5 separate regions of the Homo sapiens genome follow, and all the other regions are linked to region 1. The links are contacts of gene promoters, found by promoter capture Hi-C in blood cells and fetal thymus (Javierre and others, 2016). All regions are on one chromosome and are shown on one strand. Each heading gives the region's core, a stretch centred on a gene start or on the middle of the fragment in contact. The rest is flanking DNA. Distances are from core to core; before and after follow the strand shown.

Region 1 (4,327 bases), core at 1,437-3,936:
TAGGGTTCGTGCCCCTATGAGAATCTAATGCCACCACTGATCAGGCCAAATGCTGGCTGAACTGCCACTCACCTCCTGCTGTGCAGCCCAGTTCCTAACAGGCTTCAGACTGGTACCAGTCTGCTGCCCAGGGGTTGGGGACCCCTGTTTTACATCACAACTCATAATACACACACACATATATATACAGACACACATAATCACATATATGTATACATATGTATACATATATACACACATATATATACACATAATCAAGATAAAAGATTTACAGAATAATAGTACATATGGCATACTGATTTTTTAAAAAAAATTATTCTATTCTACTGCATTGAAGAAAATAGAAAGCTAGTACTAATCCACTGAATTCATCACTATCCACCACTTGGTCCCATTCTGAAAGTTTAAAAAATGCTGCTCTTCTAGAACATTAGCTTAGAAATCAAACAAAATTATAGCGCACTGACCAATAGGTATTTGGCAATATCGTTTCCCAGAAATTGAATGAGGACACTGTGTCCAATGCATTCAAGCCCAAAGCATAACAGCAATTGCTCAGAGCACATCAGGCCTCAGTTGGAAGTCTGATGGAGTTAGCAGGCATGCCTCAGTTTGGCCCTCGAAAAGACCAATCAAACTGGCAATAAAAACATGGAAGTTTCACCCCTCCACCCTTCTTTTTTTGTCATTTACTGTTCAAGTTCTGATCATACAGAGACCAGATCAATATTGCAGCTCCCCCCCCCGCCCCTGCCCTCCACTTTGCCCTCAGCTGTACAGGTATTGTGCTTCTCCTAAATATGTGTTGCAATACAAACCACCAAAAAGTCCAAAAGACATGAGATTTACTTATAGTGCCACTTGCCACCCATAACTACCAACCCTGAGGGCCTCCTTAGCACCTCTAACTGGGCAGAGGAAACGACCAGAGATTCATCTGGAATGAAAAAGTGGTTTAAGACCTTTTGATTGTTATCAGTTGAAACCTAATATAAAGAAACTTCCTGGGACTCCTCTCTAACCTACCACTACCAAGATTGTTGTGACAAGAAGAGTTGATTGATTTTATTGGGGAATGTATGTGGAAGGAAGATAGTTTTTTCAGCCCTAATTGTGTGTCAAATTCCAAACCTGCCCTTGGGGAGTTCACAATCTTTGGGCAGATGATACTACAAATAGTCTGGAACGATTTTGAGTGCATGACAGCACGGATTTTTAAAAGTCCGTCACCATATTGTTTTAGAAAATAGTACCTGCAAAAAGAGGGCTGAGTACGGAGGGATTAAGGCATGCGGGGCGCTTTCCTGTGGCTCGAAGACTAAGCCTTGCATGACAGCGGCATTTAAGGGGATGAGAGGAGATTGGACACCAAAGCAAGAATGGCTATTATTTAAGACTGGCCTGAACAGAGTAGAAGGTTTGCGGTAGGGAAGACTGGCCTGAACAGAGTAGAAGGTTTGGGGTAGGGAACACAGGAGTGTGATGGGGGAAATCGGGACCTCGCTTGTCAATCATAAACACTGGTGCAGGCGAGGGCACCCGAAGCCTCACGTGCGGCGGAAATAGGCAGTTGTACGGATTTCCTCAGTAAAACATTGAAAGCAAAAACTGCGATCACACCCAGCCCTTTCCTCTATGCCCTGCCCAATTTCTCCCAAGTCCCCAAAAGGAAGAGAGCAGTAGGTCAAACTTGTTTATTCATTCATTCCATGAACATTTCTCTCTCCTAAGGGGTCTTTGTTTCCTGCAAGGGAGTGAGTCTTGCCTTTCCCGCAGCACCAATTTTTCCACAGCGAAGGGTCCCCCTAGTTGCCTGGCTCAGCAAGACCACACACATCACCATTGAAGGGAAAGGACCAGGCTCCGCAGAAAGCGCCTCAGACCCGCATTCAGACAAGGCAGTGCCTTTGCCCGGGGCGGCGGTGGTGGGATAAGAGAAGCAACGTGTCAGCGAGTGGAAAACTGGGGACTCCCAAACGGCCTTAGGAGCGCCGGGCTCCCCACTGGGGCCTCTTTCTAAGGGGCCTGGCTTGCTGGCCAAAAGGTAGCCTTTCCGCTAGTCCAGTTTCCATGGCCGTACAAAAAGCACATCCCGAAAAGGAGCTGCTCGCCGACCTCCGGCTAGTTTTGAAGAGTGAAAGCAGGTCTAGGTGGAAAAGAAAGAACAACAAACCATCAGGACAACCTTGCTGCCTTGGCCCAAGTTTGTGAGACAAAACTTCACTGTAAATCACAAAAATAACAATCAAGAAAGTGTTTGGTGGGAGGGTGGTGTCCCCCAAAAGCCTTGATGTGTCCCCCGAAAGCAAGGACTGCTGGTGACTCGGACAGGAGAAAATTTTAAGGAGATGGCTCCTCAAAGACAACCGCATGTGTTGAGCACCAACCCTGGCTGAAAAGGATAGGCAGGGGAAGCATCTGGGGGTCTTTCCAGACTATCTAGAAAGCTGGAGAGAGTGGGCTTGGGCTTTGCGGGAGAGTCTTGGGGGCGCCTGCGGGCGGGGCTGGGCCGCGGGCGCGGGCCGCAGAGGGAGGGGCAGGGAGGCGGGGCCTAGGTCTGGGCGGGTCGGAGGCGGGGCCCAGGTGGTGTTGATACACAAAGAGAAGGCGCCCGGGCGGCCGCGGTCCCGCCCACTGACGCGTCCCCGGGGTGCCGCTATAACCCGCCGCTCGCAGGGCTGCTCCACAGCCGCGCGACGCCGCCGCCTTAGAACGCCTTTCCAGTACTGCTAGCAGCAGCCCGACCACGCGTTACCGCACGCTCGCGCCTTTCCCTTGACACGGCGGACGCCGGAGGATTGGGGCGGCAATTTGTCTTTTCCTTTTTTATTAAAATTATTTTTCCTGCCTGTTGTTGGATTTGGGGAAATTTTTTGTTTGTTTTTTATGATTTGTATTTGACTGAGAGAAACCCACTGAAGACGTCTGCGTGAGAATAGAGACCACCGAGGTAACGCGTGCGGGGGGGCGTCTGTGGGAAGGGCGCGGGGCCCGGGCGAGAGTGGGGGAGGGGCTTCCGGGAGGGGCCGCGCGGGAAGGCGGCCGCGGGGTCCGTTTCCTTTCGAGGCGGGCGTTGTCGGTTGGGCTGGCCAGCCTTCCACCCTGGCCCGCCGCGCGGGTGTCGCGCCCGCGACGTGGGTAGGAGAGCGGGCGCTGGGCGGGGGCCGCGTGCCTGCACGGTGCGGAGCCGCATCTTCCCATTAGGGGGAGGGGAGCTAGCCCGGCCAGCGGCTCTGCTGCGGCAAGTCTTGTGACTGATTTGCATTTAATAAAAAAAAAAAATTAAGTCCAGGGAGCCAGGAATCTGGGGGCGGCGGAGGTGGGCTTGGGCATGTATTACAGGAGAGGCCAAGATTGGGGAAGACGAGTTGGGAACATTTGACAATCGACGATCGATATTGCATCAGTTTTCTTTCCGGACATAGGAGGGGCTGGGCGGGCGTAGCACTCGCGGGCCAGCTGCCTGTGGACGGGTGTGCTTGAGGGCACTGGCGCGCGTGTGTAAACAAACCCCCAGCTCCCGGGGCCCGGGCGTTCGCCCCCCTCGAGAGAGGAGTAGTGTCGGCCCTTTCCGCCTCCTGGGGAAGGCTGTCTGCGGCAGAGGCATTTCTCCGTGTGGGGACTCCGGGCAGTAAAGGACAGATTACGCAGCATTGCTGTTCCAAATGCTAGAAACGGAAAGCCGTGCGCCTAGGTTGCATGCACACGAGCCAGGGTCGGGGCTGGATGTGTGCCCTGAGTGCCTGTGCAAGTTTGGAGCGACTGGGAAAAAGCAAAACAGAACCCCCCCTCGCCCCCTCCACTCCGACGAGGGACAATAGAGAGGGTGAAATACTGAAATCTGCCGGAGTAGGGGGCCTCGACGGCCGCAACACAGCGGTGGCATCATCTTTGTTCTCCCCGCGGCTCCGCCGTCTGTACTTTTCCGCCCCTCGGCGCGCCCCCGCCCCTCGCGCGCGGCTGGTACTTTTCCACTCGCCTGGCCTGGGATGAATCAGCCGCGCTGCGCCTCCGGGCGGCGTCACGTGACCGCGGCGGGCTGGCGCTGCGGTCCTGACGCGCCGCCTCTACTTTCGCAGGCCGACTCGCGGGCCGCTGCACCCACCGCCAAGGACAAAAGGAGCCCAGCGCTACTAGCTGCACCCGATTCCTCCCAGTGCTTAGCATGAAGAAGGCCGAAATGGGACGATTCAGTATTTCCCCGGATGAAGACAGCAGCAGCTACAGTTCCAACAGCGACTTCAACTACTCCTACCCCACCAAGCAAGCTGCTCTGAAAAGGTGGGAGAAGTTGTGACACTTTTGAAAAAACGGCTTGCATGGGTTG
Region 2 (3,814 bases), core at 495-2,994, 550 kb before region 1:
GAGCAAGTTCCTACATGTTTCTAAGCCTCAGTTTCTTCTTCTATAAAGTGGGGCAACAGAGCTTCCCTGGGAGAGTGATTTGAGCATTAACAAGACACTTAGAATGCCTCCATCACATAGTGAGCCTCAATTATTATTATTTCTTATGTCTCTAGATTCTCCTGTGCCCCTCAAACCTTCTTTTGCATGCTCAGAGACCCTGTTCCCCTGGGAATGGTTGTCTACTAGGTGGGTTTGGGAGCAGTGTGGCTGGAGCCACAGAGCCAACACTCCCAGCGGAACCTGGGGAAGCTACTTCAACTCTCTGGCCTCAGCTTCCTCATCTGTTGACTTGAGATTTCTTTGCATTTTTCTGAAACTCCATCCACTGCAACATGCTTATCAGATTAAAGGTAGAAGAGGGCACAGTCACATGTTTGGCTTGCTTTGTTAAAAGATCCTAGCGAATTGGGACAGACAGACCAAGCCCTAACAAAACTTTCATAGCTTAGCTATGGTAATATAAACAAAATATTTACTTTGGTTTTTGCCCCTACCTCCTTCCCTTTTCCTTGTTTGGAACTCCTAAATTATATCATTGGAATTTTGGGAAGTTATAAGTGTTTTTTTTGGTATACTAACAAAATGACTGATAGTTGGGGGCTCCCAGATAGCTTCAGGATAAAGGCTGGTTGACAGAGGAACCAATTATATGGTTGGAGGGTTGGAACTTTCAGCCCAATCTTCTGATCTCTGGGGAGAGGAGAGAAGCTGAAGGTTGAGTTGATCACCAATGGCCAATAACTTAATGAATCATTCCTTAATAGTGGAACCTCCATAAAGACCCAAAAGGACTGGGTTCAGAGAACTTCTGGGTTACTGAACACGTGGAAGGTGACATACTCCAAGAAGGCATGGAAGCTCCTTACCGCTTTCCCATACCTTGCCCTCTGCATCTCTTCTATCTGGGTGTTCCTAAGTTAGATACTTCTATAATAAATGGGTAAATGTAAGCAAACTGCTTCCCTGCATCCTGTGAACCACTCTAGCAAATGACTGGGCCCCAAAAAGGGGCAGTGGGAACTCCCAATTTATCGCCAGTTGGTTAGAAATTCTGGAAACCCTACTTGGAATTGGCATCTGAAGTGGGGGGAGTCTTGTGAGACTAAGCCCTTAAACTGTGGGGTCTGACTCTAACTCCTGGTAGACAGTATTAGAGTTGAATTAAATTAAAGGACACCCTGTTGGGATCAGCTGGAGAACTACTTGGTGTGTGGGGAGAGAACCCCACACATCCGATGTTAGAAGTAAAATATTGAGTGTGAAGTATCTCTGTGAGAATAGAACAAACAATTAAATTTTTCAAATCTCTTGCCACTATCTGCTGTCCTCAGCACTAAGACAACCTGGTCTTTAAAAATGAGGGGGGTTTTAGAAGTAGGTAACTCTCTGAAATAGTTGGTGATGATTTGATGGTTCCAGAAAGAATAAGAAAAACACCACATGGAGCCTTATAAGTAGGTATAAGATGAATTCCAAGATAGACCAGGCCAGTTTTGCCACAACACACACCTTCCTGTGTGGTTCACTCCTTCTCTCTTTCTGCTTTAACTAATGTTTCTGTCTTCTCGGTCTTCATTTTTAAGTTTAAATTGTTTGCTCTTTGGCCTGCTCAGCTAAAGCTTGTTTCTCTGTCTGGGTTCATGAATAGGTGTAGCTAATTTGCTTCTAGCTGTTACTAAGTTCCTGTGTGTCTGTCTTGACAAGAAGATTCCTTTGCCATCACTCAATTTAGAGCTAATTGGAGCCTTTCATTTGTGGCCAATTATAACAGTTAATTAAGCTTAGGTAAATTTATTTAATCTTTTTTCATAAAATGAAGAATAACTCGATTTAGTAAAAAAAAAAAATTTCCTTTCTCTCCTATTATCAACAGCTTGAAGACACTATGAAATAGTGAAGTTACTTATTTTCTTATTCTGAAATTGCAAATAGATTTTCAAACACTTAAGTGCTTCCATTTTGATCCTTTCTGGGATATTCATTTAAATTCCCCAAATGTTTATTGAACCCTACCACTGAATCCTAGTGTGGAAATCTACCAGGGAACCCAACCAAAATATAACATACAGGTTCTGGCCTCAATAGTTAATAACTTTGTAGGGCAGAAGACCATATACACAATTATTAATAGGGGCAGAGTCTATTAAATACCAGAAAAAATTAACATGTATTGCAAAAGATAGACTACAAAGAAAAGGTTAAGTCTAGCTGGGAAGGTGGTGGTGGGTGGTTAGGGAAGACTCAGAGATGAAGGTAGAAGGAAGGGTACAATTTCGGCAGGAAGAAACAGTGATGAGAGTAGAGAAGGCATTTTAGGGGGACACAGCTGACTAGGCCGAGGAGTGGAGGTGGGGAGAGCAGACCTTTCCGGGGAGAGCCCAAGTTAGTTAGATCTTGGAAGGTGAGGAAGGATATTGCTCAGAATGCAGCTTGGACCTTGGTCATGGACAGGGTTGTGTTCATGTCAACTAGTTTATACTTCACTCCATAGCCTGCATGGAGCCACTGAGAGTTTTTAAAAAGAAATAATATTGTCAGAACTGTGCTCAGAGCAGCTTGCTTGGATGATATTGCTTCAAGGGGTGGTTAGCAGGGGTGGGCACATGACAGCCCCGTGGACCAAATCCAGCCCACCATCCGTGAGTTAAGAATAGTTTACATGTTTTACAATGGTTGAAAGAAGTCAGAAGAAGAATAAAATTTTGTGATACATGAAAATTAAGTTTCAGGATCCAGCAATAGAGTTTTATTGGAGCACAGCCACATTCGTTTGCTGATGTATCATCCAGGCTGTTTTTGTGCTACAACAGCAGAGTTGGGTGGTTGCAACAGAGACCATATGGTTCACAAAGCCCCAAATATTTACTATCTGGCTCTTTACAGGAAAAATTTCTCAATTCCTTGTCTAGAAGTCTAGTTTAAAGAAAGCAGACTTTGGACAGCTAGAAATTTCAGGGAAAAAATGTGAAGTACACAGAACTAATACTTGTTTAGCCTTGATACCTGAAATTTTGCTGTTCATTATGGCCTAACAAAGTATTTTTTATCATTCATTTATTGTTCTACTCACCCCAAGCTAGCCAGTTAGTAACAGGTTTACTCTTGCAACCCTAGCCTCCAAAGTAGAAAACAAACAAAAATGCAATCTCTAAGACTAGGCAAAGGCAAAGAAAGCACTACATTTCCTTTCCCTTTGGAAAGTGGAGTGAGTCATGGCTCTTTCACCTGCTATGTCACCATGGGAAAGCCACATAATTATTCATTTTCTCATCTGTAAATTGAGTCAATAAAATCTTTCCTTCCTACTTCACAGAGAATGAAAAAATACAAGATATATTACTCTGTAAATATGTTTCAGTTAAAACATATGAAAAGTAACAGTTGGATTCAACAATTTTTTTGTTTGTTTAGACAGTCTCACTCTGTTGCCTAGGCTGGAGTGCAATGGTGCGATATCAGATCACTGCAACCTCTGCCTCCCAGCAATTCTCGTGCCTCAGCCTCCTGAGTAGCTGGGATTACAGGTGTGTGCCACCATGGCTGGCTAATTTTTGTATTTTTAGTACAGACAGCATTTCACCATGTTGGCCAGGCTGGTCTCAGACTCCTGGCTTCAAGTGATCCACCTGCCTCGGCCTCCCAAAGTGTTGGGATTACAGGCATGAGCCACCATGCCTTGCCTCATTCAACAATTATTGAGCACCTACTATGGGCAAGGCACTACTGTAGGCTTGTGGGAAACACATTAAAAAAAAACACAAAGAATGCCTGC
Region 3 (4,131 bases), core at 1,547-4,046, 650 kb before region 1:
TGAGAGCTCTTTGAGGACAGCTATGATGAGGACCATGGCCAGCATACTGTGATCAATAGTAGAGGGCTGAGAGATGCTCCTTCACTAGGGATTTGCAGGACTGCTAGAAATTAGCCACATAGAAGAAAAAAACGGAGTCAGCACATTTTGGGCAGAAAGCAAGGTATGTCCGAAGGAAGCTGTTGCTGTGAGAAGATGATATGTTTGGGAAAATTCAGGCTGTTTAGTAGGGCTGCCCTGTCGAGATGTGCAGGGAAATGGGGACAAAGGAAGGCAGGGTCCACTACGCACAGAGTCAGGGTTATTAAGAGATGACGTTTCAGCTTTATCCTGAAGGCTACAGTGAGGAGCTTAATCAGGTCTATAGTTTGGCAAAAGCACTCTGTCATCTAGGTAGAGGATGCATTAGAGTGGGGAAAAGACCAGAGACAAGGAGTTCAGTTAGGAGACTATCACAGTAAATCCAGGCAAGGTCTCACGATGATTCTAACTACTGTTAAGTCAGTAGGTATATTGAGGAAGGGACAAACTTATTTGAGAAGTAATTAAGCAGGAGAATCTATTATAATTCTGCTAACATAGTAAACATGGTATGCCCTGAAGATAGGCTGCTGGGGTTCAAATTTTGCAGGCTCTACCGCAGTGCCATGACTTTGGATGAGTTGCTTAGCTTATTTGTATCTCAGTTTTGTCATCTATAAAATGGGTGTAGTAACACAACACAGTGGATGATTGTGGAGATTATATAAAATAATAGGTGAAGAGCATTTAACTCTCTGCTTGCCATACAGTAAGTGCTCAGTATATATTTGTTATTTTTTCTATTGACTGATTAGACTTGGAGGTTGAGTGAGAGGACAGATCTAGGTTGGTTCACAGTTTTCTGGCTTGACAAAGTATAGGATCATTGAATGCTCGAATCTGCATTATTAATATTGAGTTGTCTCTCCAGACAGGATAGTCCATGTTGATAATCCAGCCACAGTTATATATCAACTCCAGTCCAAAAAAAATTCCCCAAGAGTAACTATTAATATGTTCCATTTCACTTTATTTGGGATTACTAAGATTGTTAAAAGAAGATGATAAAAGACGGAGACTGGGCACAGGGTGATGAAGAATGCAGAGACCTTCATTTGGTACTGGCAGTACATTCAAGCATCTTAAGTTTAAACTGGGAAGAATCTCAATCATTTCTTGGACCAGCTACCTAAAACTAATAGAAAAAAGGCAATGTTTGAAAACTAAATGGATTTTTGGCATTCAACAGCTAGAGAAAATGAGTTTGGGGGCTGAGGGTTTGGGGGAGGGAGGGCGGTATTTTATAAAGGTCACTGTCCCAAATGGAAGTCAAATGCTTCATCTTCTTTAACTGCAACAGAATACAGCTTTTTCAAAAAATGAATAACCAGTGAAGGATATCTTGGTTTTCTTTCTTACCCATTAGAGATAACTGATAAAAGTTAGGCAATAGAAGAGCTAGTTGGTAAAAATTCATATTAATTAATTTGTTGGTAAAATTATATATTCTTATAAATTATAATAAAGCCATAATGTAGAATTATAATTATATCAAAATTATAAGTTATTTTGTTGGTAAAAATTCATACTATTTTATGTCTCCTTGGTGGCTACTCTGACACATTTTCTTTAGTTTTTTTTACTAGATCTAAATGAATCAGAGGGCAAAGATCTACATTTATCTTGTCAATTTCCCCATATCCTAATTATATGATATAATTATTGTATTTTATAATTATTTTATGTGTACATAATATGTACTTAGCATATATATCATATAATTATTGGATATATTATATTTTTCTTGTATCTTTGTCTCAATGCTACAAAGAGAATAATAGTAAGGATAATAAATTACTTTCTAACATTAGCTCTGACCATCATACACTGTAACAGAGCTTTGGCCAATGCGTGGGCAGTGGCATGCTGGAGCTGGCTGTAGTAGCAGCTCAGAAGAGCTGATTGCGAGCATTTCTTTCCAACTCCTTTTTCAGTGACCTCAAGCTGGAAGCTTAAAATGAGACATAGTGGGAGTAGTTATACCATAAATACAGTACAAATCAGGGCTTTTCCTCCTAACAAACTAGTTTACCAGCACATCATTGATTAAATGTCAGAAATATATATATATAAAGATCTATTTTGTGTGGTATCAGGTGGCAGGAGAGAGGAAAAGGAGAGGTTTTGATTGCTGGAGAAGTGAAAGGGTCTTGAATTCAGCATCAATTCATAAAATTGGTTGAATCATAGAAATCTGCTAAGCTTCAACTATTTTTGTTTACAACATATCATATGGTTCAACCTAATACATGAGGCTGCAAGTAACAGAAACCCCTACAAACAATAGCTTATATAAATAAAACTTTTTGTCACATTGCAAGGAATCCAAAGGTAAGAAACGTCCTGATACAGCTATTCAATGAACTCAGCGATGCTGTCAGAGACCTATCATCCTGTTGCATCATCCTTAGAAAATTGACTTTTGTCCAGGTGAGATGGCTCACGCCTGTAATCCTGGCACTTTGGGAAGTGCAGGTGGGCAGATCGCCTGAGGTCAGGAGTTCGAGATCAGCCTGGCCAACATGGTGATACCCCGTCTCTATTAAAATTACAAAAATTAGCTGGGCATGGTGGTGCATGCCTGTAGTCCCAGCTACTAGGGAAGCTAAGACATGAGAATCCCTTGAACCGGGGATGTGGTTGCAGTGAGCCGAGATCATGCCACTGTATTCCAGCCTGGGCCACAGGATGAGACTCCGTCTCAAAAAATAAAAGTTGACTTTTGTCCTCAGGCTTGTCATCTTATGGTCACAAATGTCTGCTGTGCCTCCAGGGACTATGTCTTCATTGCAGGCAGAAGAGAAGAGAAAGGCAAAGGCTGTCTTCTGTAAGTTTATCAATGTTAATCAGAAAGACAAAAGTTCTTTTCTATGTTATCTGTGTTAATCAGAAAGACAAGCCCTGGAGGCTCATTCAAAAACTTCTGCTTTCATCTCATTGACCAAAATTTGTCACTTCATTCCCAGACAAAGTTACAAGATTACTAAGATTACTAAGGCTGGTTTAGACCAATCATAATTTATCCCTGGCCCTGGGATGAATCACGATTGGTTTAAACCCATCCATAAATACTCGACAGAGGGAAAGATCTCAGCAGCCACCTGAACGAACTTAAGGTTCCATTGGCTTGGGGAGGGAGGGGTGGATATAGGAAGAACAACAAAGGAGATCTATCACAATGCCCTTGAATTATGAATCCAGGAATCTAGAAACAAAGTAACAAGCTTTCCCATTTCTTGGTTTAGCTATGTAAAAGTAGTTCTATGTGTGTGTGTGTGTGTGTGTGTGTGTGTGTGTGTGTGTGTATCAGTGGTTGTTAAGCATTGTATTTAATTAGCATGCAGCTCAAAAAGTAGTTTGGCAAAATTTATATATTATATGATCACAGCATTAAAATTTATTCTTGAAGTCTCAGTCTTTACACTTTAATCTTTACGTGGCACAGTGGTCTGTTTACAACTTTTAAAAAAGATTGAGAGGGCCTTAAAGTAACATCACTGATCTAGCACGTTGGCCTAATAGATTGTTGGGAGAAGATAATGATATAAGATAAGGTATGTTATAATATAAAAATTTCTGAATAAAGAGCCTAATGCTAGCCATTTTAAGGAAAGCAGAAGGAGTAAATATACTCTTCTGCAGTGGTGATGGCATCATTTAAAAACTCTCACAAGTTATTTACCTACCTTGACATTGCAGGATCATGTTATCCAAGTGATTTGTAGTCTTGCCTCTGGAATAATGGCAGATCAACCAGTATAAAACCCTGGGTAATATACTAGTCTGAGTTAACTGTTTATACTTCGCTTTCCTGTTGATTTACCTATGGCAAATAAGACAATGCATGTCAGTTCTGCTCTTGGCTAGACTTTGTAGAGTAGTAGGTACAATGCATGTTTTCCTGACATGGTTATAAAGTATTTTTTGTCACATTTATAAGCACGGCTTCAAAATTGGACACACTTAGGTTTTATCCAGAAGCTGCCCTTTACTGTCAATGTGGCTTAAAATAAGTTATTCAATGACTCAGCCTGGTTTCTTCCTTTATAA
Region 4 (4,336 bases), core at 1,361-3,860, 590 kb before region 1:
TCAAGGCTTGGTGTGCTCTCCAGGGCAAGCCGGGGGTCAGCTGAGGAATCCTGCCCTAAATACAACTTTCTTAGGATAATCCTTCTGATTATCCTAAGACACAGGCAGCTCTGACAAGACAAGAGCCTAGGCAGCCCTGAACCAGAGCTCCCTAATCAGGGCAAGGAAGTTTCGTTTCACATCCTAATGCGAAGAGAATTCCTGGAATGTTGGAATGAGAAAACGTGGTGCTGGGCTTGGCGGTAACTTCGCGATAGATGAATAGCAGCCACCGTGGATTCAAGTGGGGAAGTGGTGGCACGGGGCTGGATATCACCATCCTTGACTCCATTGCTTCACATTGTGGAAAAACTTTGTTACATATGGATCTTAATCATCTCAGCCTTGAGGAGTGCAGAGATGAGAGTTCCCACAGAATACCCTACATTCACACTCCCTTGTCAAAAATAATCAACGTAATTTTCATAAAGAAATGACTGGGAGCTGAGAACAATAATATGTTCTAGTACAAATCCTTCTCAATGTGCCCTTGGGAGGTTTGGCTGAATGCAATCCCCACAGAAGCCTTCAGTATGGAGCCAGTTCTTAAAACCAGTTGTTGCCTATTTGATTGATTCATTGATTGCACCAGTCACTGACCTGTGCATGGCAGTGGGGGAGTTGCTCTTTGGCAGTCAAGGGAAATAATAATAGGAAAGCTGCCAAGATAAGGCATCTGGCAGAACTTGTTGAAACTCTATTTCTAGAACTTGGAATGCACGCTGACCTCAAAGGCACCAATTCCTCTTCGTGCCCTTAAGTGGAATTGTTTGTAATCTTTGACCCAGTATGACCTATGCAGGTACTACACTCCGGCATATTCCAGATATTTGCTTTCCACATGTGGAGACTTCATTTCCACCTCCACCTCCCTCCCCTCCCCATGGTGATGGATCATTTATATAGACATATGGGAGAGGAAAAAGTTGAAATTCTCAAAATAAAAGCAGAATAGGCTAGGCATAGTGGCTCATGTCTGCAATCTCAGCACTGTGGGAGGCTGAGGTGGGAGGATCGCTTGAAGCAAGGAGTTTGAGACCAGCCTGGGCAACAAAGTGAGATCCCTCTACAAAAAAACAAAACAAAACAAAAACATTAGCCAGGCACAGTGGTGTGCACCTCTAATCCTAGCTACTCAGGAGGTTGAGGTAGGAGGATTGCTTGAGCCCAGGAGTTCAAGGCCACAGTGAGCTATGATCATGCCACTGCACTTCAGCATGGGTGACAGGGTGAGACCCTTCCTAAAAAAAAAAAAAGCAGAGTATTGACAATGTCATTTTTGACTTTGAAGTGAGCCATATAAGTGTCACATCACATGAGTGCAAGGAACACTGACATACTTCTTCAGCTGCTGCACATGAGCCTTACTTTAAAAATATCCATATGTAGCCTTGACTGTCTTTCGCTTTCTTCACACTTCAATCCTTTACTCCAAACATGTGATTAGTTCTGCAGCAGATACTTCTGCTTGATTCCAAATTATATCTCTAGAATGGCATTTTTTCTTAGCAGCTCCCACCAGCTGCTAGTAAGCATGCATAAGAGATAACAGGGAACAAGGATGAGAGTTCTTTGTGCTAACTCTTATGAGAATGGAAGAAAGCCACCTTACAACTTAGGACTGCATGAAAAAAGAAATGCTGAATAAAACAAATCAAATGCACACAGCAGAAGTTTCATAAATTTCATGACAATAATTTAATGTAAGAATTATTGTTAAGACTTATTGATAAACATCCAAGCTGAGTTGAATTGAATTGAACTGAATTTGGTTACTGAATTGAGCTAACACTTGTCCTGACATTTCCTGAAGGCTGGCACTTTCTCTGAACTCCTTACAGTCTGCACTAAGATTGCAGGTGATCTCTTATTTTCTTTTATCCTCTACCTCCTCTACCAAAAGTTGTCCATAGTATCAAGAGATGAAGCCCATGCAATATCTGGGGACAGATCCTAGCTGACACTCATGAATTCTGTATATGGGAGGTCTGAATAGGGAATCAAGGTCTCTGTTTCACAATTTTTCCCAAGTTCACAGAGAACTGACACACTGTTTTTAGGAGAACCTCATCTTTTTGAGAGATCAGATTTGTCTCATCTAAGAACAAGTCTCAACAGAAAGGTTCGGACTTCTTGAGAGGTCTTCTAATGTCTCAAAGTAGCAAAATGTAATGGGCAAATTCATGTACCTTCAGAATTCATGTAGGTGATAGTCTGATATTTCTTTTTGTTTCCTGAAGACAAATGTCTTTATAAAATATTAACTCATCTATACAAACCTGACTATGTGAAATGAATGTTTAATCTGTAAAATATATTATGAAGAGTATAGCAGCTGCTTCCAATGTTATCGGAGTATAATTGATTTTAATTATTTAGGTATTTCAGGTTTTACTTCCTGGATGATTAGGAGAGAACTAATGTTTGCATGGAGAATGAGTGTGGGCCAAGAAGTAGATAAAGGAAGTGAATGGAGAGCCTTCAATAGTTCTCTAGATTGTGAGAAGCTGCTGAATATTCAATAACGAGGTCAATTCTACCTGTGCAGTGGTCCTGGTTCTGCCCTCTTCTTTCCACTGCCCCCACATAAGTCATCATTACCTCTTGCTGGACTGTTGTGATAGTCATCCACCTGGCCTTCCAGGATCTTTTATGTCCTGTCTTGAATCAATCCTGTATCAATCATTTATCCAAGAAATATGTAACAAACATCTACTTTGTAGGTAGCAGGGTTTTTTTAAAATGCTGTCACAGGGCTCTTTAGAGGGATTTCAAACACTATCACAGGGATCTTTAGAGGGAAAAGGCTTTAAGATACACCCACCCATTCAATTGGCTTTTTTTTTTTTTTTTTTTTTTTTTCTGAGACGGAGTCTTGCTCTGTCACCCAGGCTGGAGGGCAGTGGTGCAATCTCGGCTCACTGCAAGCTCCGCCTCCCGGGTTCACGTCATTCTCCTGCCTCAGCCTCCCAAGTAGCTGGGACTACAGGCGCCTGCCACCACGCCCAGGTAATTTTTTTTTTTTTTTTGTATTTTTTGTAGAGACGGTGTTTCACCATGTTAGCCAGGATGGTCTCGATCTCCTGACCTCATAATCTGCCTGCCTCGGCCTCCCAAAGTGCTTGGATTACAGGCGTGAGCCACTGCGCCCAGCCCTGAATTGACTTTTAAAGAGAATTACCTAATGGGGTGTTCTGTTTCCCAAATTCCCAGTGGGATCTATGAGTAGGAGTGTGTTGTGTGTGTGCGTGTATATGTGTGTGTGTCCCCTCTAGGTAAGGACCTGATACTACTTTGCTTTCTTCTCTGAAGAAGACAAAAATATTTTCAATTATTTATAACACTACACTAGTAAAAGCCTGTGATCCATAAAGAGAAATTCGATATCATTTTGTCCTTCCGATTCCCCATATAACTGCCATCATTTTTCCAGTTAATTCCAAAGGATCTAACGACCTTTTTCCTCACAGAATCTCTTGTCTTTTCAAATTTTATTTTATTTGACATATATTTATGTCCTTTTTCAAAAAACAGCCTTGAGGATGTTTTCAAATATAGATGTATATACATTATTTTGAACAATTTTAAAGTTATTCTGGGATGACTTTTATTTCTCCATGTAAATTTATAAATCTGGAAGGCTTTGTTGTGTGTTTGTGAATAACGACTAGCAGTTTTAAGAATCTTTTTTTGATCTTAAGAGGTTTATTCAATAAGTTGCCTATAATAGATGCCTTAGGAGAAATACTTCATTTGTATTCTAAGATTGCACGTTGCCTTATTTACGTTTGTTGAGAAATGAGAGCTATCTGCTTGGGATCAGCCAAGAAGTACGGTGGAGAGGGCTTAGGTTCTGAAGGAGACTTGGACTTCAATGCAGTGTCAGCCTCTGGCTGGCTCCATGATCTCCTGGGAGAGGCACTTCAGATCTGGGTGCTTTCCTTTCCTCCTCTGTGAAACATCACAGATTGCTGCTAAGGTAGGTGAAACTGCTCTGTGAACCTTGAAATATTCTGTGAGACATGCGCTGCTTAGGAGAAGGGGTGCCTTGAGCCAGTGATGTTCTTGCTAAACTAGTCATCTGTTCCTGATAGTAAAGAAATTGAAGCAAGTAAAGAAATTGAGGCAAGTTCTCCCCACTCCTACTTCTTCCTACCCAGATGAAATAAGTCTCCTTGCAGACATACTCTACAGGTATTGACTACAAGTATTTAATGGCTACAAATATTAAGAAGTGCTTTTTAAAAAGCATTAACATCACCCCTCAATCAATAAATTATTGAAGCTAATTGGTAAA
Region 5 (4,318 bases), core at 723-3,222, 610 kb before region 1:
TTTCAAAAAATTCTGGTTATGTGGGGAATCACATTGATTTGCTCATATCAAACCAACCTAGCCTCGCAGGAATGAAGCCTACTTGATCATTGTGATTAACTTTTTGATGTGCTGTTGAATTTGGTTTGCTAGTATTTTGTTGAGGATTTTTGTGTTTATGTTTATCAGGAATATTGGCTTGTAGTTTTCTTTTCTCATTGTTTCTTTACCAGGTTTTGGTATCAGGGTGATGCTGGCTTCATTGAGTGAGTTAGGGAGGAGTCCCTTCTCCTTGATTTATTTGAACAGTTATAGTAGTATTGGTACCAGTTCTTTTTTGTATGTCTGGTAAAATTCAGCTGTGAATCCATCTGGTCTGGAGGTTTTTATTGGTTGGTAGGTTTTTTTTTTTTTAAAATAACTGATTCAAGTTTAGGACTTAATATTGGTTTGTTCAGGGTTTCAATTTCTTTCTAAATCAATCTTGGGAGATTATGTGTTTCTAGGAATTTATCCTAGAAACATAAATTTTCTTTTTTTTCATGCTTATTGAATCTTTATTTTGACTTATTTGGCATGAAAAATACAATAGTGAATAAACAATAGTTTCTGGGCTAATGGAACACTCTTTAAGAAATATATAACAACCAAAAAATTAAGATGAATGAATGTTATAAAAAAGAAAGTATATGCGACCCTAAATGATAAGACACAGGGATATCTTCTAAACTAGAAGGGGTTCTTTTTTACTGATACATAATAATTGTACATATTTATGGGATACATGTGATATTTTGATACTGTATTCTCACATGCTATATGAGTTATGATTTATTTCTAGAAGTTATAAAATGGATTATTTATTTATTTTTATTATACTTTAAGTTCTGGGATACATGTGCAGAATGCACAGGTTTGTTCCATAGGTATACATGTGTCATGGTGGTTTGCTGCACCCATTAACCCGTCATCTAGGTTTTAAGCCATACATGCATTAGGTATTTGTCCTAATGTTATCCCTTCCCTTGTCCCCCCTACCCCATGACAGGCCCTGGTGTGTGATGTTCCCCTCCCTCTGTCCATGTGTTCTCATTGTTCAACTCCCACTTTTGAGTGAGAACATGTGGTGTTTGGTTTTCTGTTTCTGTGTTAGTTTGCTGAGAATGATGGTTTCCAGCTTCATCCATGTCCCTGCAAAGGACATGAACTCTTCCTTTTTTATGGCTGCATAGTATTCCATGGTGTGTATGTGCCACATTTTCTTTTTCCTGTCTATCATTGATGGGCATTTGGGTTGGTTCCAAGTCTTTGCTATTGTGAATAGTGCTACAATAAACGTATGTGTGCATGTGTCTTTATAGTAGAATGATTTGTAATCCTTTGGGTATATAAACAATAATGGGATTGCTGGGTCAAATGGTATTTCTGGTTCTAGATCCTTAGGGAATTGCCACACTGTCTTCCACAATGGTTGAACTGATTCACACTCCCACCAGCAGTGTAAAATCCTTCCTATTTCTCCACAGCCTCACTAGCATCTTTTGATTCCTGACTTTTTAATGATTGCCTTTCTAACTGGCATAAGATGGTATCTCATTGTGGTTTTGATTTGCATTTCTCTAATGACCAGTGATGATGAACTTTTTTCATTTGTTTGTTGGACGCATAAATGTCTTTTTTTGAGAAATGTCTGTTCATATCCTTTGCCCACTTTTTGATGGGGTCGTTTGTTTTTTTCTTGTAAATTTGTTTAAGTTCCTTGTAGAATCTGGATGTTAAACTTTTGCCAGATGGATAGATTGCAAAAATTTTCTCCCATTCTGTAGGTTGCCTGTTCACTCTAATGATAGTTTCTTTTGCTGTGCAGAAGCTCTTTAGTTTAATTAGATCCCTTTTGTCAATTGTGGCTTTTGTTGCAATTGCTTTTGGCATTTTTTCATGAAGTCTTTGCTCATGCCTATGTCCTGAATGTTATTGTCTGGGTTTTCTTCTAGGGTTATGGTTTTTGGTCTTATGTTTAAGTCTTTCATCTATCTTGAGCTAATTTTTGTATAAGGTGTAAGGAAGGGGTCCAGTTTCAGTTTTCTGCATATGGTAGCCAGCTTTCCTAGCTCCATTTATTAAATGGGGAATCCTTTCCGCATTGCTTGTTTTTGTCAGGTTTGTCAAAGATCAGATGGTTGTAGATGTGTGGCGTTATTTCTGAGGCCTCTGTTCTGTCCCATAGGTATTTTATTCTCTTTGTATCAATTGTGAATGGGAGTTCACTCATGATTTGGCTCTCTGTTTATTATTCGTGTATAGAAGTGCTTGTGATTTTTGCACATTGATTTTGTATCCTGAGACTTTGCTGATGTTGCTCATCAGCTTAAGGAGTTTTTGGGCTGAGACAATGGCGTTTTCTAAATATACAATCATGTCATCTGCAAACAGTGACAATTTCACTTCCTCTCTTCCTATTTGAATACCCTTTATATGTTTATCTTGCCTGATTTCCCTGGCCAGAATTTCCAATACTATAGAAACATAAATTTTCTACAGTAAAATGTGTGCAAAGATGTGTTCATAATAGTCTCTGGAAATCTTTTTATTTCTGTGCGATCAGTTGTAATGTCACCTTTGTCATTTCTAATTGTGCTTGGATCACCTTTTGTTTTCTTTGTTAATCTAAATAGCTTTAGGTTGATTTTGTTTATTCTTTCAAAGAAACATCTTTTGGTTTTGTTGATTTTTTGGGGGCTTTTGTGTCTCAGTTTTATGCAGTTCTGATCTATTTTTAGTTATTTATTTTCTTCTACTTGCTTTGGAGTTAGTTTGTTCTTGTTTTTCTAGTTCCTCTAAGTGAGATGTTAGACTGTTAATTTCAGATTGTTCTAACTTTTTGAGGTAGGCATTTAGTGCTATAAACTTTCCTCTTAACACTGCTTTTGGTGTATCCCAGAGATTATGGTATGTTTTGTCTCTGTTTTAATTCATTTCAAAGAATGTTTTTTATTTCTGCCTTAATTTTTTTGTTTACCTAAAATTTTTTCAGGAGCAAGTTGTTTAATTTCCATGTAATTGTATGGCTTCAAGGGAGCTTCATGGTATTGATTTCGATTTTCATTCCACTGTGGTTCATGAATATGATGGGTATGATTTCAATTTTAAAAAAATTTATTGACACTTGCTTTATGACTGAGGATGTGGATGATCCTGCAGTATGTTCTGTGTGCAGACAAAAAGAGTGGATATTCTGTGGTTGATGGGTGAAATATTCTGTCAGTGTCTCTTAGGTCCAGTTGGTCAATTGAACTGCAGAATTTCTGTTAGTTTTCTGCCTTAATGATCTGTCTAATGCTGGCAATGGTGTGTTGAAGTCCTCTACTATTGTTTTATGGCTGTCTGTCTTTTCATAGATCTAAAAGTACTTGTTTTATGAATTTGAGTGCTCCAGTGTTGGGTGTATATGTGTTTAGGATACATGAGCCATCTTGTTGAATTGAAGCCCTTATCATTATGTAATGCCCTTCTTTGTTCTTTTTTACTGTTGTTGATTTAAAGTCTGTTTTATCTAGGATTGGTCTTACTGTTTTTTGTGTTCTATTTGCACAGTAGCTCTTTCTCCAACACTTTACTTTGAGCCTATGAATGTTATTAAATGTGAGATGGATCTCTTGAAGACAGTAGATGTATTTTTTTTTTCAAATTGCCACTCTGTGCCTTTTAAGTGAGGGCATTTAGACCATTTACAGTCAAGGTTAATATTGAGATGTGCAGTTTTGATCCTATCATGAAGTTGTTAGCTGGTTCCTTGGTAGTTTTTATTGCATGGGTTTTTTAAGGGTTTGTAGGCTATATACTTAAGTGTGCTTCTGTGGTAGCAGATATTGCTCTTTTGTTTCCATGTTTAGAACTCTTTTAAGGATCTCTTGTAAAGGTGATCTAGTGTCAATAAATTTCCTTAGCTCTTGCTTCTTTGGAAAATATTTTATTTCTTGTTCACTTATGAAGCTTGATTTGGCAGGATATGAAATTTATTTTTGGTTGAAATTTCTTTTCTTTTCTTTTTTTTTTTTTTTTGAGACAGAGTCTCTGTCGCCCAGGCTGGAGTGCAGTGGCACGATCTCGGCTCACTGCAAGCTCCGCCTCCCGGGTTCACGCCATTCTCCTGCCTCAGCCTCTCCGAGTAGCTGGGACTACAGGCGCCCGCCACCACGCCCGGCTAATTTTTTGTATTTTCAGTAGAGACAGGGTTTCACCGTGGTCTGTATCTCCTGACCTCGTGATCCGCCCGCCTCGGCCTCCCAAAGTGCTGGGATTACAAGCGTGAGCCACCGCGCCCGGCCGAAATTTCTTT

What was found. The method cuts DNA at HindIII sites, captures the fragments that hold promoters and counts their contacts. A CHiCAGO score of 5 or more calls a contact.
Region 2: a fragment that was not itself captured here is called in contact with the fragment with the promoter of SLC38A2 in region 1 in 3 of 17 cell types (M0 macrophages, M1 macrophages and M2 macrophages); the score reaches 15.0 in M0 macrophages.
Region 3: a contact is called between a fragment that was not itself captured here and the fragment with the promoter of SLC38A2 in region 1, in 2 of 17 cell types (endothelial precursors and M0 macrophages). The highest score is 8.2, in endothelial precursors.
Region 4: a contact is called between a fragment that was not itself captured here and the fragment with the promoter of SLC38A2 in region 1, in 2 of 17 cell types (M0 macrophages and M1 macrophages). The highest score is 7.6, in M0 macrophages.
Region 5: a contact is called between a fragment that was not itself captured here and the fragment with the promoter of SLC38A2 in region 1, in 2 of 17 cell types (M0 macrophages and M2 macrophages). The highest score is 5.6, in M0 macrophages.

What each region holds. Positions count from the first base shown.
Region 1 is chr12:46,371,132-46,375,458 of GRCh38, reverse strand. SLC38A2 (solute carrier family 38 member 2) reads left to right here and starts at 2,686. Exons shown (of 16, transcript NM_018976.5): 1 at 2,686-2,950; 2 at 4,080-4,281. The coding sequence starts at 4,166. SLC38A2-AS1 (SLC38A2 antisense RNA 1) reads right to left here and starts at 2,676. Exons shown (of 2, transcript NR_187299.1): 1 at 2,597-2,676; 2 at 1,681-2,146. RefSeq lists enhancers at 2,127-2,186, 2,867-2,946, 2,804-3,507, 3,197-3,526, 3,607-3,756 and silencers at 2,437-2,776, 2,977-3,176. The HindIII fragment of the contact is 15,961 bases long and covers 1-4,327 here.
Region 2 is chr12:46,921,013-46,924,826 of GRCh38, reverse strand. No RefSeq gene overlaps it. Among named protein-coding and RNA genes, the nearest start is that of SLC38A4, 97 kb to the right of the region's middle. The HindIII fragment of the contact is 161 bases long and covers 1,664-1,824 here.
Region 3 is chr12:47,022,505-47,026,635 of GRCh38, reverse strand. No RefSeq gene overlaps it. Among named protein-coding and RNA genes, the nearest start is that of PCED1B, 55 kb to the left of the region's middle. The HindIII fragment of the contact is 1,022 bases long and covers 2,286-3,307 here.
Region 4 is chr12:46,960,545-46,964,880 of GRCh38, reverse strand. LOC124902925 (a long non-coding RNA gene) reads left to right here and starts at 3,007. Exons shown (of 2, transcript XR_007063287.1): 1 at 3,007-3,048. The HindIII fragment of the contact is 7,311 bases long and covers 1-4,336 here.
Region 5 is chr12:46,985,196-46,989,513 of GRCh38, reverse strand. No RefSeq gene overlaps it. Among named protein-coding and RNA genes, the nearest start is that of PCED1B, 92 kb to the left of the region's middle. The HindIII fragment of the contact is 4,004 bases long and covers 1-3,974 here.